Linked DNA regions of Homo sapiens: region 1 is linked to region 2. The links are contacts of gene promoters, found by promoter capture Hi-C in human tissues and cell types (Jung and others, 2019). All regions are on one chromosome and are shown on one strand. Each heading gives the region's core, a stretch centred on a gene start or on the middle of the fragment in contact. The rest is flanking DNA. Distances are from core to core; before and after follow the strand shown.

Evidence for each region. The method cuts DNA at HindIII sites, captures the fragments that hold promoters and counts their contacts. A contact is called where the count stands out against the background at its distance.
Region 1: a contact is called between a fragment that was not itself captured here and the fragment with the promoter of SPRYD7 in region 2, in 1 of the 25 tissues and cell types used here (lymphoblastoid cells).

What each region holds. Positions count from the first base shown.
Region 1 is chr13:51,064,107-51,066,806 of GRCh38, forward strand. It overlaps the pseudogene GUCY1B2. Among named protein-coding and RNA genes, the nearest start is that of C13orf42, 46 kb to the right of the region's middle. The HindIII fragment of the contact is 8,297 bases long and covers 1-2,700 here.
Region 2 is chr13:49,934,897-49,937,596 of GRCh38, forward strand. It overlaps SPRYD7 (SPRY domain containing 7), which reads right to left and starts at 1,444. Exons shown (of 5, transcript NM_020456.4): 1 at 1,234-1,444. The coding sequence starts at 1,339. RefSeq lists enhancers at 1,255-1,504, 2,375-2,424 and a silencer at 1,545-1,794. The HindIII fragment of the contact is 7,175 bases long and covers 1-2,700 here.

The DNA of each region.
Region 1 (2,700 bases), core at 125-2,624, 1.1 Mb after region 2:
GGATACTGCCTGGTCTGCAGAACCATTTCCTCTCCCTCTGCCAGACCCAGCCATCATTCCCTGTCAGGCTCACTGCTGGATGCCTCTGTGTCCTCAACACCACAGAGATGGTGTGTTAACTATCACATGCACACGCTCGGGTTTTGTATCTGTCAACACACACATATATATATACACACAGGCATGTATGTATGGGTGTGCATGTATTTGTATATACTTATATATATTATGTATGTTTATATGTGGCCATGTACACATATAAATGCATATGTGTGTATGTATATATATATTTTTTTCCTGTCCTTTGTTAAATTGCAAGCTCCTCAGGGTCAGGAAGTAAGTGTCATTTATCTATATTTTGACTAAAGTGCCAAGACACTGTCTGCTACACAGGAGGTATTTAACAAACACTTATCGAGCAAGGAAGTACTGAAATGAAGCCTCAAGTCTCATGAAAATCTTTAAATAACCCGTTATTCAACATCAATCCAATGTAAACAAAGATAGCAATTGTTCAACTTAGCAATCTTTGCAAAAGTATGCCCAATCAAATAAAACATCATGCCCACTGCCCGAGCACTAGAGACAAACTTCTAGTGTGTAACAAGGGAAACTGAGGCAGTGGGGAATTTGAAGTCTGCTGCTAGTTGATAACCACATCACCTACTTCTAGGTCATGACCACCCCGATAGTGTGCCTCTGTTTGATGAATTTAGGGCCATTGAGTCATGTGGTCCAGCATTTGTCTTTGGTGTTCAGCAGTTCCCCAAGCTGGTACCAGAGTTAATCATTTAGAGACCTTGAGCTTATAGATCAGAGAGTGGCCCCCTCACCCTCTACTGATTATAAACATGTCCCTTTCCTGTCCACTGAAATCAGGTGACTTTCTCTGCCCCTGGAGAGAGCAAAAGAGGCAATGTATCCCACACGATGTGTCGAGCATATGCGGGGACCTTGGTGTTTGCTGCCCACACCCAGGTGGAGGGGGATACTTGGTAGGACACACTCCCTACACATTTGAGGGCCTCACTGAAATAAGTAAGAATGGCAAGCCAGCACCAAAGTTCTCTAACCATCTGGAACTAGTGCTGCTCAACCAGTGAGATCAGCAAGCAGGCAGGGACTCTCATTTGCTGGTGACACCCAAATCTTTCAGAGGCTACTTGGGCCATGGCTGCAGCACCCCCAAAAACATCTGCGTTCCAAAGAAGCAATTAAAATGTCTGAAAATGTTAAGGTTTAGCCAAATCTTTCTCCTGTAAAGATGTTTTCACATTCCATATCCAGTCCTACTCACCGTGCCTGCCAGGCATTGGCTGGGGAATGTGGCTTCAAAATAAAATGCAGTCTCAGTAAGCCCAGAGAGGGAGTACAGCTTAGGAGAAAGGGTTTGGGCTCTGGAGCCAGAAGGGTTTCTGTTTCTGTGACTTGTAGCTGTGCAGCTTTGGGTAAATTGCCTAACCTCTCTGAGCCCAGTCTGCTCATGAGCTAAAGTGGACATAATACCGTTTGCTGTGTTGGAGGATGGTTGTTGGGGTTATAGAGTAACGGTTCTGAAGTTAGACCATGAGGGCTCATTGCTGACCCCAAGTCTTATTTGCTGTTTGACTCAAGCCAGATCTTACTCACCCTCAGTTGTCTCATTTGGAAAATGGGGGTGAGAATGGTCCCTTCCTCATAGGGTTTTAGTAAGCATTAAATGAGGTAATACGTGTGAGGTACTTGGCACATAGTAAGCGCTCAGGAAACTGTAGCCTCTTAGATAACAGGCATTTTGAACAATAGGTGCTCAACAAACAGAAGCGGAAGGAAAGTCAGGGCCAAGGGTGCTGAGAGCTGCTCACCATGTTCCTGCCGCAGCTGCTCCTGGGGCCACAGGGATTGAGATGCAGCACCAAGCGCCCGCCCTTCCTGCCAGCCCCTAGTCACTCAGGAGAGAATCCACAGCGTCTCCAGAAGCCTGTCTTGTAGAAATCTGGGCAGTCCACAGTGAAATTAGGAGCTCATCACTAGCCTCCAAGCAAGGAGCACACTGTTGGGTCCTCAGTCACCTGCGGGGTAAAGCATAAGGCCGCCCCCTCTGGTGAGCAAGTGGGACCTGCTGCCTGGCACCCCAAGTCGTGCACACCCCAGATGCTAAGCTCTCAGGAGTTCAGCCTGAAACCTGAAGCTTCTCCCCGAGGTGCCAACGGCACAGAACGCCTTTCTGCAAGCACAGAAAAGCATACACCCCTAAGCTCCTGTAGGAAGACTGCCTTGTAGATGAGGCTGTCTATTGAGTGATCTTTTTAGTGTATCTTTAATTAAACCACGTTGGATGCCATCCAAGAACGGCCTGCCTTGACCAACACTTGGCCCTACAGTGTCATAATGGGAAGTCCCCTGGTGCCTTGAGCCTTATCCTCCATCCCCATCACTGTTCCGTTTCAGGCTCTGGTGGGCTGTTTGCCAGAGGTCTATTTCCTGAGTATTACTTGTGGTCAGAGGTGAGAAATCCAGCCACTAACCAGGTCCAACAAATGTCGCCTGTAGCTGTTCCAACACACATGCTAGCTTTGGTGTAAAAACAGAGAACAAATAAATACATTTAGTAAAATCAAAGGCTGGGGTAAGCCCTCCAGGCAGTGTGGAGGTGTGGGGCACTAGAGGGATGTGACTCATGGTTAAGACAGTCTGTCGAGGACCACAACGCCACAGACT
Region 2 (2,700 bases), core at 194-2,693:
TGCTTAATAAATATCACTTCAGTAAATGAGTAACTGAAATGGAAATATTTTCTGAGGAAAACTATAGAATTTGAACTCCATCGTCTATAAATAATGATGGATAAAAAATAATTTAAAGATTACTTATGTATTAAGGTTCTGTACTACATTTGGGAGATCTGAGAATTAAAAGTAAATACACACATACAAGGTGATTATATAGTTATCACATTTAGTATGTGTTATACAAAAATACAGTGGGCAGAGTGTTTCCAGAATTATAAGGAAACTGGGCGAGAGAGTTTTATCATAAATATTAAGAAGTGCCTTTTTATTTCAATGCACTGTCCTTTAAACAATCAGAAACGTGTAAAAAATCAAAAGTGCAGAAGTACAGTTAGAATAAAATAATCCACAAAAAGACAGTACTCTAACTGAAATAATTATATTGGGAAATCTCTCCTTCTAGAACCACATTCCAGAAGCATGAAACTACCTGGGAAAAGTCTAAGAAATAATAAGGTGGTGAAAGAGGCTATGATGGGAGAGGAAGAATGTTAGATAAATTATATGGATTTGGAATTAAAAGGATAAAGCAAGATGCAAAGGAGCAAAGTGCTATTTTATTTTTCAACAGTTAGACCTGTTGGGAAGAGGCCAGTCAGATGAAATTACAGTACCTCTCACAATGACTAAGGAGTCGGGCAATGGGAGGTTTTAGTTGAAATGGCAAGTTCTGACCTGAGGTGCGACTTCAGACTTCTGCAGTCTGCCTTGTTTCGACTTTAGGAGGTGAGAGGAAAATTACTTCCAATAATATAGGATTCAACCTATAAATGATGGGGCTCAAGAGACAGGACCGACAGTCAGGGCAGGAGGAGGAGCAAGACCGGACCTAGAAGCATTCTGAAAATGTGTAGGTTTTCACTGGGGCGCGCCAGAAGGGCACTCTCCGCCCCCTCGCCCGAGGACGTGTGACATCTCCGGAGGAAGCCTCCGAGATTCCTGTGAAAATGGGAGGTCCACACGCCCATTCGCGATGACAGACACAGAGAGGGCTGCGCAGCCTTGAACACAGAACCGGGCCCAGGTGGAGTCCGCCGGCTTCTGGAGAGATCTGCGAGACGAAATGGTGTCGGCGCAGCGTCGCCGGCGCGGCGGGGCAGCGTGGGGACCCTCTGACCCTGAAGGTCCCCCTGCCCGCCGCGCCCGGCCCCCGTGAGCCGTTGGGTCTGGGGAAGGGAGGGCCCTTACCCATGTGCTGCGTGTCCAGCTGCACGGCCGGCATCTCCTTCAGAGGGATGTGGCCAGTCCCCCCGTCTCTGCAGCACCGCAGGCAGCACAACACCGAGGTGGCCATCGCGCAGGGACCACCGACTCCGCCGCCGTCCCTAGACCGAGGCGACACTGCCCCCCGCCGCTCAGCTCCGTCTCCTGCCCCCGCCCGAGGTCCGGACTTGTCTATGTGGAGCTCGGAGGCCGGTACAGCGACACCCTAGGCCGGGAGGGCGCAATGCAGGCTGAGCTTAGGCTGGCCTGCGAGGAAGACGCGGAGAATCAAGGGGCCGGGGAGAGACCGGACAGGGCGAGCGGCCGGGCTGGGCCGGGGAGACGGGTGGGGCTAGTGGCGCGCGGAGGCGTGGCAGGGGGCGTGGCGTTGCGGGCCTGCGGATGTGGGACGGCGTGCGCCTGCGCACCAGCTGGTTTTTTCTCCTTGGGCGGTTTCGCGCACGCCCCCAGGGCTGACAGGTGAGTGGGGCTGTCTGTCCCTCAGTACTTCCAGGGGTTTTCCTATGCAGAATTTTTAAAACGCAGCACCCCTTGGTCCCGGCCTCGACATTATTTCTAGGGATGGATTGACAGAAGCGAATCAGTTTGGGGGAAGGGGAGCTAATGGAAATGACTTCCGAGTTTTCCCTCCGCGGGCCCAGGTTGAGCAGGCTTTGCCACCACGGAGAGCCCCAGTCTCCCTGCCGTGGCTGGTTTCCCTCACATGCTAAATAGACTCACGTGGGCCCCAGGAGTAATGCCTGTTAGTGACTGCACTGTGGATGTTCACCGGGGCTCACGCGGGCCCTAATGCATTTTCGGTGCAGAGACGCGCCCTACCTGGCCCATCGGGCTGCGTGGTCCGGGGCGCGTGGGAGGCCGCCCTGGGAGCAGAACGCTGGGGCGGGGTCGGGGGCGATTCTTGACCTGCCTCTTCCAAGCTCCCCCTGTCTGGTGCACTGAGGGTTCCGAGGAATGTGACGGGAACCCAGGAGGCTGCGGGAAGTCTGCTGGGTCCCGAGGGAAGCCTTCGGCTCCTACCGTCCGCTACTTTCTGCTTCCACACGGGAGGCTGTCACCTGTCATCTCCTTCCCCACTTAGATCATCCTTCCGTGGTAGATTTTACATCTTCAGGCCGGGTGCAGTGGCTCACGCCTGTAATCCCAGCACTTTGGGAGGCTGAGGTGGGCGGATCACCTGAGGTCAGGAGTTCAAGACCAGGATGGCCAACATGGTGAAACCCCGTCTCTACTAAAAATACAAAAATTAGCTGGGTGCGGTGGTGCACGCCTGTAATCCCAGCCACTCAGGAGGTTGTGGCACGAGAATCGCTTAAACCCGGGAGGCGGAGGTTACAGTGAGCCTAGATCGCGCCACTGCCCTCCAGCCTGGGCAACAGAGACTCTGTCTCCAAAAAAAAAAAAAAAAAAAAAAAGATACCGCTTGGCATC